Linked DNA regions of Homo sapiens: region 1 is linked to region 2. The links are contacts of gene promoters, found by promoter capture Hi-C in human tissues and cell types (Jung and others, 2019). All regions are on one chromosome and are shown on one strand. The core of a region is centred on a gene start or on the middle of the fragment in contact, and the rest is flanking DNA. Distances in the headings are between cores, read along the strand shown. Region 1 overlaps SYN3 (synapsin III). Region 2 holds the start of SLC5A4 (solute carrier family 5 member 4).

Region 1 (6,196 bases), core at 2,402-4,901, 410 kb before region 2:
CAAAGGAAGAAGGGAAGGCAGGAGTGGAGGAAGGAGGAGGAAGGAAGAGGGGAAGGAGAAGGAGAAGGAGAAAGGAAGGAAAGGAGTGAAGGGAGGAGGGAGGGGGAAATGAGGGAAGTGAGGAGAAACAAAACTGATTGTCATTTTCACTGAAAAGTTAATAACAATGTAACAATTTCTCATCCACAGGAAGAGGGGAAAGAGAAGGGGAAAGGAGTGAAGGAAGGGGGGGTGGAAATGAGGGAAGTGAGGAGAAACAAAACCGATTGTCATTTTCATTGAAAAGATAATTATGTAACAATTTCTCATCCACAGTTTCTTTTAACACTTCTAAACAATTGATTACTTTTAAAGTAAAACCTAATTTACACTCTTCATGTATACTTTCTACTTCTGCATCTATGAGGTGATTTTTCAAACATTTATATCACTCCTTGTGGTAAAAGTGTCCTTGTATACAATTCAAACACTGTGAAGGAGCATAAAGTAAAGAACAACCAAGCTGGGCACGGTGGCTCACACCTGTAATCCCAGCACTTTGGGAGGCTGAGTCAGGCGGATCAGGTCAGGAGATGGAGACCATCCTGGCTAACAGGGTGAAACCCCGTCTCTACTAAAAATACAAAAAAATTAGCTGGGCACGGTGGTAGGCACCTGTAGTCCCAGCTACTCGGGAGGCTGAGGCAAGAGAATGGCATGAACCCGGGCGGACTTGCAGTGGGCAGAGATGGCGCCACTGCATTCCAGCCTGGGCGACAGAGCGACACTCCGTCTCAAAAAAAAAAAAAAAAAGAAAGAAAGAAAGAAAAGTGATCTCCTCTTGGAAGCCTTCCCCGATCCTCTTCTTTCCCGACCTTGACTGACTGACTTTTCCAAAAACCTAAGCGAAATGCAGAAGGAGAGCTCTCTTATATGATGCCTTATGGAGATAAAAATGAACACATACTAAAGTATACAGTGGTATGGATTTGGAAGGCAACCCAGCAATTTAGCAAATAAAAATGTGCATCCCCTTTGACCCAGCAACCCACTTTAAGGAACTTGACCTACCCAAAAACCTAAGCAAGTGCGCAAAGACGGTGTGCCAAGACTTTGCAATACTTTTGTGTGATCAGCAGGGACTGGTTTAATAAACTTTAGTACTATAGGCTACTCCATGCTGATAGAAAAATATGTCAAGATATTTGTCATCTTGAAAAAAACTAAGTGTCAAATGATATACATAGTATGATCCCTTCAGTCTTACAGAAAGCATGATGGAAGGAAAGAGAGAATAAAGAAAGGGGAAAAGGGAGGGAGGGAAGGAGGAAGGAATGAAAGAAGGAAGCAAGGGAGGAAGGGAGTGAGTGAGTGAGGAAGAAGGAATGGAGAAGAAAGAAAGGGAGGAAAGGAGTGAGCGAGTGAGGGAGAAGGAATGAAAGAAGGAAGGAAGGAAGGGAGGAAGGAAGGAAGAGAGATTGTATGTTACCCTGAGATTTGGTTCTAAAGTCTGTGAATAAAACAAAAAGGGGCATAATTTAGCAGGGTTTCACTGTGTTAGCCAGGATGGTCTTGATCTCCTGACCTTGTGTTCCGTGAGGAGATCACTTTTCAACCAGACCTTGAAGGATGGCATGGTATTCAGAGAAACAGACAAAGGACATTCCAGGTAGAGGCTGGAATATGGAGTCAAAGACATTCATGGAGCTTGGTCGAGGTGGGGAGGTGGTTCATTATTCCTTGGTAAATCCTTGGCCATCACGTTACCTAGACCACAGCCCACCGCAAGGCAGGCTTAGATATTTGAACAAAATACATCAAGACAGACAAATAAGCAATTACATTCCAACAGGGGGAAACAGACAATGAACAGAAAATAAAGTCAACTGGATGGCATGTTAGATGGAGATAAGTGTTATGGGGAATAAAAATCAGGGATGGGAGATGGGGAATGTGCATGGGGAGCAGAAGGGGCCACCGTGTTAAACAAGGTGACCAGAGAAGGCCTCATGAGAGGGGTTACATCTGATAATGACCCATAGCAGGTGAAGGAAGGAGCCTTCCAGATTCCTGGGGAAAGAGCATTCCAGGGAGAGGGCCAGCAAGGACGAAGGGCCTGAGGTGGGAGAGTCCTCAGTGAGTTGGAGAAAGAGCAAGGTGGCCACATGGCCAGAGCAGAGTGAGAGAGGGGACAAAGGGGACAAGAGAGCTGAAGTCCTAAGGCCCTGGTGCTGAATGCCTGAAGGTGTCAGGCTCTGTGGCTTGTTTGGATTGTTTGGTTTGGGTTATTCTTTAGAGTAAGATGAGAAACTATTGAGAGGTTTTGAATAGAGGAGTGACACACTCCGACATGTGGTTCAAGGAGACCCTTCTGGGTAAAAGAGAGATGAGGACCAAAATGAGACCAATTCAAAGATTACTGGCATAATGCAGGTGATTTGGGCCAAGGTGAAGCAGTAATGGTGGAGGAAAATGACCATATTCTGAATGTATTTTGAAGGTAGAGGCTTTAGGATTTGCTCATGGATTGGGTGTGAGGTGTGAAAGATGAGAAAGCATCGAGAGAGCCGCAGGGTTTTGACCTGATGCTGCCATTAACTGAAGTAGGACTTAGTTTGGAGCTGGGGGAGAGATTCAAGGGCTCAGTTACAGATATAGTGTGTGATTTCGTTGGACATCAGAGTGCAGATGTCAAGAAAGCAGTTAGACATGTTAGAACAAATTCAGGGAGAGGTCAGGGCTAGAAGTATAAACAGATGAGTAATCAGCATATAGATAGTGTTAAGAGTCATTAGGCTACATGAGGTTACTAAAGGAATGAGTATGGACAGAAAAAGAGAAAAGGTCTGAGAGCTGACCCCTGAGACACTTCACTGATACAAAGTCAGGAAGGTAGAGGGGAATCTGTGATGGCGACTAAGGGAGGGCAGCCAGCAAGGTAGGAGGTTGGGTCCTAAAGGCCAAAACACACAAGTGTTTGACAGAAGAGCGCGTGATTAAATTCTGCTGCTAAAAATTCGCGATTGCAAAAATATGGAACCAGCCCAAATGCCTATTAATCAATGAAATTAATGGATAAAAATCTGTGATATATGTGAGACATATATATATATATATATATACACACACTGTGGCATACTACTCAGCCATAAGAAGGAATAAAATAATGGTATTTGCACCAACCTGGATGGAATTGGAAACCATTATTCTAAATGAAGTAACTCAGGAATAGAAAACCAAACATCATATGTTCCTCACTCATCAGTAGGAGCTAGGCTATGAGGATGCCAAGGCATAATAAGGAGGATACAATGGGCCAGGTGTGGTGGCTCACACCTGTAATCCTAGTACTTTGGGAGGCCAAGGTGGGTGGATCACCTGAGGCCAGGAGTTCAAGACCAGCCTGGCCAACATGGCAAAACCCTGTCTCTATTAAAAATACAAAAATTAGCTAGGCGTGGTGGAACATGCCTGTAGTCCCAGGTATGTGGGAGGCTGAGACATGAGAATCCCTTGAACCAGGAGGCAGAGGTTGTGGTGAGCCGGGATGGCACCACTGCACTCTAACCTGGGTGACAGAACAGGCTCTGCCCCAAAAAAAAAAAAAAAAAAAAAAAAAAGAATTATACATTATACAATGGACTTTGGGGATTCGGGAGGAAAGGGTGGGAGGGGTTGAGGGATAAAAGACTACAAATTAGGCTGGGTGCAGTGGTTCACGCCTGTAATCCCAGCACTTTGGGAGGTGGAGGCGGGCAGATTGGGAGGCCGAGGCGGGCAGATTATGAGGTTAGGAGATCGAGACCATCCTGGCTAACACAGTGAAACCCTGTCTCTACTAAAAACACAAAAAATTAGCCGGGCTTGGCGGCGGGCGCATGTAGTCCCAGCTACAAGGGAGGCTGAGGCAGGAGAATGGCATGAACCCAGGAGGCGGAGCTTGCAGTGAGCCGAGATCGCACCACTGCACTCCAGCCTGGGCGACAGAGCGAGACTCTGTCAAAAAAAAAAAAAAAAAAAAAAAAAAGCGACCAATTGAGTACAGTGTATGCTGCTCGAGTGACAGGTGCACCAAAATCTCAGATATCACCACTAAAGGACTCATTCATGTAACCAGACACCTCCTGTTCCCCAAAAACCTATGGAAATAAAAAATAATAAATAAATAAATAAATGCTGCTGTTAGGTCAAGAAAGACAAGGACTAAAACACCGACCACTAGATTTTCCCCTGAAAACTATTTATTACTTTTAACCAAGTGCTGGCCAAGTCTCCCTGGCCTTGGATGGAAGGCATATCAATTGCACATCATCAGCCAAGTACTGATTGGATGGTTTCAATTGCAAAGGGGAAATCTTATCTCCAAGTCATAAGGTGGGATTTCTGACAGAAGGAAGAGCACACATTAGGTGAAGAATGCTAGACTAGGAAGGAATGGAGTCAGATGGCATGGGCACCAGTCTTGGTTTATCTACTTGCTCCCTGTGTGACCTTAAGACTCCCTGTAGCTCTTACCATCTTCACATACAATATGATGGGTGGTGAGCAGAGCAGGGTTCTCTGAGAGACTTTTCATAGTCTCTTCTCAAGTCTAAAATTCAAAGACATTTCCCTATCTTAGTCAGGGATGGCTACATAATTTGCAGGATCCCTTTTTCAAAATGTGCAGTGTGGGGGGGGAATGCTGTTAAAGATACTAAATATAAAGCTTTTTCTTTCCTTCCACTATCTCTCTCTTGACTTGTCATAATGCTGTTTTAATTGCTATTTAATATCATTCTAGGTAAAATAAATAAATGAAATTTTACATTATTCACGTGGATTTTACCATTTACTTTTACATTGTGCAATGCAAAATTTTAAATGCAAATATGAAAACATTGAACTCATAAGCAGAATCAATAAAATTACACAATTCATATTTCATAGTTCCTACATGCTGTATTAGTCAGTTCCCACACTGCTAATAAAGACATACCCGAGACTGGGTAACTTATAAAGAAAAAGAGGTTTAGGCTGGGCGTGGTGGCTCATGCCTGTAATCCCAGCACTTTGGGAGGCCGAGGCAGGTGGATCACGAGGTCAGGAGATCGAGACCATGCTGGCTAACACGGTGAAACCCCGTCTCTACTAAAAATACAAAAAATTAGCCGGGCGTGGTGGTGGGTGCCTATACTCCCAGCTATTCGGGCGGCTGAGGCAGGAGAATGGCGTGAACCCGGGAGGCGGAGCTTGCAGTGAGCCAAGATGGCGCCACTGCACTCCAGCCTGGGCGACAGAGTGAGACTCAAAAAAAAAAAAAAAGAGAAGAAAAGAAAAGAAAAACAAGTTGAATGGGCTTACAGTTTCACATGGCTGGGGAGGCCTCACAATCATGGCAGAAGGCGAAAGGCACGTCTTACATGGCGGCAGCAAGAGAAAATGAGAGCCAAGCGAAAGGGGTTTCCTCTTACACAACCATGCTACACAAAACTAACTCAACTGTTTTTATTTCACTTCTGGATGCACACACATTCTTCCAACCCCCTCTACTTGAGGCTTACTGTTGAGTAAGTAAGGACTAAAAGAAAAGTGAACTATGAATTGGCCTACCTTTTTCTTTTTTTCTGTGTCATCATATTCAGTATAAATTATTGGCTAGTAAGAAGGAACATGAGGGAATCTCTTGGTTGGTTGTTTGCTTTTCTCAGAAAGTGATTGTCTTCCTCATCTGTAAAATGGGGATACTTTGTAAGGCAATTTTAAAACAGAAAATTCATCTATCCACTCATGTAATTCTATACCACGCACAGTGCTTGGAACACATATGTGGTCAGTAAATATTTTAAGTGCTAAGAATTCAGTGTGGCTCAAGTTGGGAGGATGCTGAGGTACATAATAAAAATAACAGCTCAGCAGTAATTGAGTATTTATTATGTGCCAGGCATTGTGTTAATGCTATTGTATTAACTCATTTCCTCTTAATGACAGCCTTATGAAGTAGGTATTTTTATTACCCCCATTTTACAGATGAGGAACTTGGAAAGGTCAGTAACTTGGCCAAAGACCCGTAGCCAGTTAAGTGGCATATCTGGGAGTCAGGCCCAGGTCAATAAGATGCCAAAGCATGTGCTTTGGAACACTGACTATATTGGTCCCATAGTTACTTGGTAATAAAATCAAAGTAGTCAAAGAGCTATGGAGGGAAATGATGAGTTCCATCTGGGGAATCCAAGAA
Region 2 (5,864 bases), core at 1,881-4,380:
TATACCTCTTGGCTATTGGTTTGTGTTTTTTTGAGAAATGTCTAAGTCTTTAGCCCATTTTAATTGGCTTATTAGTTTTTTTGTTTTTGCCATTGAGTTGTGGGGGGTTATTTTATATTTTGGAATCAACCATACTTCCTCTATTCAACATAGCATTGGAAGTCCCAGCCAGAATAAGTGGGTAAGAAATAGAAATAATTAAAAGGCATTCTAATTGGAAAAGAAGTAAGATCATCTCTATTCACAGATGACATGAGATCAGGAGTTCAGGACCAGCCTGGCCAACATGACACAACCCCATCTCCACTAAAAATACAAAAATTAGCTGGAAATGGTGGTGCATGCCTGTAATCCCAGCAACTCGGGAGGCTGAGGCAGGAGAAGAATCACTTGAACCTGCGAGGTGGGGGCTGCAGTGAGTGGAGATTGTACCACCACCCTCCAGCCTGGGCAACAGAGCAAGACTCTGTCTCACAAATAAAATAAAGAATACATAAAGAAAACCTTAGCTGGGCGAGGTGGCTCACACCTGTAATCCCAGCACTTTGGGAGGCCAAGGCGGGAGAATTACCTGCGGTCAGGAGTTCAAGACCAGCCTGGTCAATATGGTGAAACCCCATCCATCTCTGCTAAAAATACAAAAAATAGCCGGGCATGGTGGTGTGTTTCTGTAATCCCAGCTACTCGGGAGGCTGAGGCAGGAGAATCGCTTGAACCCAGGAAATGGAGGTTGCAGTGAGCCAAGATTGTGCCATTGCACTCCAGCCTGGGCAACAAGAGTGAAACTCTGTCTCAAAAAAAAAAATTAAAAAAAAAAGAAAACCTTGCTGGGTTCAGTGGCTCATGCCTGTAATCCCAGCACTTTGAGAGGCTGAGACAAGGAATTACTTGAGCCCAGGTGTTCAAGACCAGCCTGGACAACATGGTAAGACCCCCACCTCTAAAAAAATGAAGTTAGCCAGGCATGGGTGGCATGTGCCTGTGGTCCCAGCTATGGTGGAGGCTGAGATGGGAGGATCACTTGAGCCCAGGAGGTTGAGGCTGCACTGAGCCATGCTTACCTCACTGCACTCCAGCCTGGGTGACAGAATGAGACCCTGTCTCTGAGAAATAAAAAGGAAATTCTACAATTCAACAGCAACAAAAATACAACATAAGGCTATTCTGGGTACACTGCCAATGAGGTAGTCCTGCTCCACAAGGAGCAGTGTAAAAAAGAATACAACATAATTTTTAAATGGATGAAGAAGTTGAATATATCTCTCTCCAAGAAGATGCACAAATGGCTATAAGCACATGAAAAAATCAACACTACTAGTGATTGTGTTAGAAGTGTAAATCAAAACTATATTGTGATACCCACTTGATACCTACTAGCCTGTCTATAATTAAAACATAAATGACAAGTATTGAAGAGGATATGGAGAAATTAACTCTCCTATGCACTGTGGAAAGAATGTAAAATAGTGCAGCTGCTGTGAACAACAGTTTGGCAGTTCTACAAAAAGTTAAACACAGAATTATCACATGCAATTCCACTTCTACATATAGACTCAAAAGAATTGAAAGTAGGGATTCAAACAGATCCTTGCACACCAGTGTTCTCAGCAGCATTATTTATAATAGCCAAGTATAGAAAGAACCTGAATGCCCATCAACAGTTGAATGGATAAACAAAATGTGGTATATATGAGTATTGGAATATTATTCAGCCTTAAAAAGGAAGGAAATTCTGATACATGCTACAATATGGATGAACCTTGAAAATGTCATACTAAGTGAAATAAACCAAAGAGGAAAATATTGTATGATTTCATTTGTATGAGGTACCTAGAATAGGCAAATTTATATAGTAAGAAAGAATAACAGAGGTTACCAGGGCCTGGAGAGAGGGAGGGATGGGGAGTTAGTTTTTAGTGGGTACATACTTCTGTTTGGAGATGATGAAAAAGTTCTGGAAATGGATAGTGGTAATGGCTGCATAACACTGTAAATGTACTTAATGCCAATGAATTGTACACTTAAAAGGGATTAAAATGGTAAATTTTATGCTATGTATGCTTTGCCACAATAAAAAATGAAGTATAAAAGAAGAATTTCTGGGCTTTCCGTTTTTTCATGTGTGTTTTTGGTTTTGTTTTTTTGTTGTTGTTTTTTTTGTTTGTTTTTGAGACAGGATCTTGCTCAGTTGCCCAGGCTAGAGTGCAGCGGCGTGATCATGGCTCACTATAGCTTTGACCTCCCAGTCACAGGTGATCCTCCCTCTTCAGCCTCCCAAGTAGCTGGGACCATACGTGTGCATCACCACACTCAGCTAATTTTTATAGAGACAAAGACTCCCTATGTTGCCCAAGCTGGTCTTGAACTCCTGGCCTCAAGTGATGCTCTCTCCTTGGCCTCCCAAAGTGCTGGGATTACAGGTGTCAGCCACCGCATAGGCTTTACTTCTAACTTCTTCTTGGCTGTAGTCCAGGAGTCTTGTTTCCTGAGTCCTCATGATCCCCATCACATGCTTCCAGGTTGATTCACTCTTTGTACAACCCTCTGACCCAGCGCTCTCCACAGCTCTGCCCTCAACTCACCACATATGGTGCTTGAAGAGCCACTTCCTTTCCTATACAGGCCACCAATGTCTTTTTGTGGCACATGAAACCCACTTCAGAGAAATGTGGGACTTTGGAATCCACGAAAGGCATAATTCACTTCACTGTCAAGGGATATAGCTCATTGGTCAGAAACTGTATCTGTTCTCTGAAGGACCATTGCATTCGGTCCCTCCTGGCTGGTTTCTGGTACCTTCTAGTCTGTCCTTCTCCCCTCCTTGTCTGTCTTCATTTCTCTCAAATCCCCCCTCCACCTGGGCAAATCTCTTTAAAGACCCTGTCTTTGCACTCAGAGAACGCCCCATGCTCCACCTCAAATTCTCCCCTCATTTCTGGCCCTGCATCCCTCATTCTCACACTCTACCTAGGCTAGCACTCACTGGTGGAGGGCTGGGGTGCCACAGCTTTGGAGAAGAGGTTTAAAGGTCTCCATATCCAGGAGCTGGCTCTGATATCTCGCCCCACCTGCCTGAGGCTGATCATTAACCCAGAACTTATATAAAGATGGCTCATGCGTGGAATGGGTATAGCACTGCCTGCAGCCATGGCCAGTACGGTTAGCCCCAGCACCATAGCTGAGACCCCAGAGCCACCTCCATTGTCTGACCACATCCGAAATGCTGCTGACATCTCAGTCATTGTCATCTATTTTCTGGTGGTGATGGCTGTTGGGCTGTGGGTAGGTGGAATCCCAGTGGCTTTTAGGGTGGGCACAAGGTTTAGGAGGGGGTATCTTAAGGGGGGAAGGGGTGTGGTTGTGACAAAGCTTTTCACAAATGTCATTGTGTTATCAGAATCATTTTCTTGTGTGTTGCATAAATAACGCTTACAATGAACTAATGTATTCTCCTAATAACCCCATCGTGTGCACACAGCCAGCACCGGGACCTTCAGATTTACTATGCATCCCCAACACCTGGCATAATGGACAAAGAGTGTATTTTTATTATCGCATTTCTTTCGCTTTCTTTTGTTGTTTGCTCACTTTCTGATTTAGTGAGTTGGACTCTTCATTTATGTTGAATTTTTTTATTTTAATAAATTTGAGACTGCAAATTTTTTTTTTTTTTGAGACGGAGTCTTGCTCTGTCGTCCAGGCTGGAGTGCAGTGGCGCTTGCTTGGCTCACTGCAAGCTCCGCCTCCTGGGTTCACGCCATTCTCCTGCCTCAGCCTCCCAAGTAGCTGGGACTACAGGCATGCGCCACCACGCCCGGCTAACTTTTTGTATTTTTAGTAGAGACGGGGTTTCACCATGTTGGCCAGGATGGTCTCGATCTCTTGACCTTGTGATCCACCCGCCTCGGCCCTCCAAAGTGCTGGAATTACAGGCGTGAGCCACCGTGCCCGGCCGAGACTGCAAATTTTATTGCAAGCATGGCTCAATGATACCTCACATGGTTTTCATAAGTGAGAATAATCAGAGCAGTTAAGATAGAAGTTAAGGATTATGATTTTTTTAAGTTCTTCCAGCCCTGGGTTTTTACAAAGCGACTGTTTTTGAAGTCCTTTAAAATTTGATGCTATAGAACACTTTCCAGCGAAATGTTTCTCTCTGTAGGAGTGCTGAAGTCACCCCTCTCAGCACCCTGGCCAGAGCCTCTGGGGTGTCTGGGTGCACTTGCTGGGGCTTGACCCTCACCTGTCTTCCCTTCTGCTCAGGCGATGCTGAAGACCAACCGAGGTACTATAGGAGGCTTCTTCCTCGCTGGTCGTGATATGGCCTGGTGGCCGGTAAGTGGATCGAAGTTTTCTGGAGATAAATTTCCTGTGTGTGTGCTTAAAACTGAATGTAGGCTGGGTGCGGTGTCTCACGCCTGTAATCCCAGCACTTTGGGAGGCCAAGGCTGGCAGATCATCTGAGGTCAGGAGTTCGAGACCAGCCTGACTAACATGGTGAAACCATCTCTACTAAAAATACAAAAATTAGCTGGACGTGGTGGTGTGTATGCCTGTAATCCCAGCTACTCAGGAGGCTGAGGCAGGATAATCACTTGAACCTGGGAGGCAGAGGTTGCAGTGAGCCTAGATCACACCACTGCACTCCAGCCTGGGCAACAAGAATGAAACTCCATCTCAAAAAAAAAAAAGTGAATGTAGACAACATTGGGAATGTTGATCATTTCTGATGTACATTGGTTGCCTACTCGCTGGGGCTCCTTTCCTAAATCCCCGACTTCATGGCTCCTCTCTGTAATTCCAGGACATTACAATATGTCACCTATTATGACAGCCGGTTCAGTCTGGCACTGAAGGACCCCAGCTCAGCCCCACCTTATATTCTTTTCTTCTGCTCCTTATCAAGAGTCTTCTCCTGGCTTCTTACAAGCTCTGCGCATTCCTGCTTTGTTGCCAGTCCTGAGCTGATGCTGGCCCTCTTGTTAGGATTGGCCTCCCCTTGTCTGCTGTCCTCTTTCAATGCCTCACCTCAGCCCTTTCTCATCTGAGGAGCCTCCCGGCTCTCTCCATGGGTCCCTATGTCCCATGCAGTTATTGGTTGTGTTCCCTGTGATGGTGCTAATGCTGATGCCTCTTGATTCTTGCCCAGTGGGTGTTCTTGTGGGGTTTTGATGTGTGACCCCCTCAGCCAGGGTCCCACTGCAGCAGAGGCTGTATCTTCCCCTCTGCACCTGGAGAGTGTCAGCCCAGCATCACATTATACAGTGGGTGCTTAGCAAATGCTTCCTTCACAGATCTGACTCATTTTCTAAATGGTATGAGGGGAAGTGGAGATGGGCAACTGTCCTGGCTGGGGTGACTGAAGCAGAACAACTGGAAGTTTGAAATGAATTTTATTTGGGACATCCAATCAGACATTGCATTTTTAGGACTGTTTAGTGAAACATGCAAGGAGGCTCAAGCGATCTTGAAGCCAAAAACCAGCTCAATCCCATCCTCTGGCCCCATGTAGCTGAGCAGAAAAAGTGATTTTACAGAGGCCTTAAAAAGTGGGAAGAGCCACACCCCAATTCTCTTCTGCTAGGACTGGTGCTCATCTACGTCCACTCAAGAGACCTCTCTTGGTCTCTGGGTCTTTAGAACAGCAGACACTGTAATGGCGAGGGGATGAATGAAAAGAGTGTCCTGTGGCTGGGAGGATGGAGAGAAACTCCCTCCTAGCCAGCTTGGGGTCTTTGCATATGATTAAAGGGAGAAGAGCTGATGGGAGATCTGGCAGTGCTTGGCCAAGGACAGGCTCAACTCAGAGCATTTTAGTAGATTGACCAATGCTCCCCCAAGACAGGGGCCAACGAGCTTTTCTG

What was found. Contacts are between HindIII fragments. The study calls those that stand out against the background at their distance.
Region 1: a contact is called between a fragment that was not itself captured here and the fragment with the promoter of SLC5A4 in region 2, in 1 of the 25 tissues and cell types used here (lymphoblastoid cells).

Annotation. Positions count from the first base shown.
Region 1 is chr22:32,662,395-32,668,590 of GRCh38, reverse strand. All of the region lies in intron 6 of SYN3 (synapsin III), which reads left to right. LOC105373002 (a long non-coding RNA gene) reads right to left here. Exons shown (of 4, transcript XR_938176.4): 4 at 4,025-6,196. Among named protein-coding and RNA genes, the nearest start is that of SYN3-AS1, 91 kb to the right of the region's middle. The HindIII fragment of the contact is 5,159 bases long and covers 1,072-6,196 here.
Region 2 is chr22:32,252,613-32,258,476 of GRCh38, reverse strand. It overlaps SLC5A4 (solute carrier family 5 member 4), which reads left to right and starts at 3,130. Exons shown (of 15, transcript NM_014227.3): 1 at 3,130-3,282; 2 at 4,264-4,335. The coding sequence starts at 3,148. All of the region lies in intron 2 of SLC5A4-AS1 (SLC5A4 antisense RNA 1), which reads right to left. The HindIII fragment of the contact is 10,747 bases long and covers 1-5,864 here.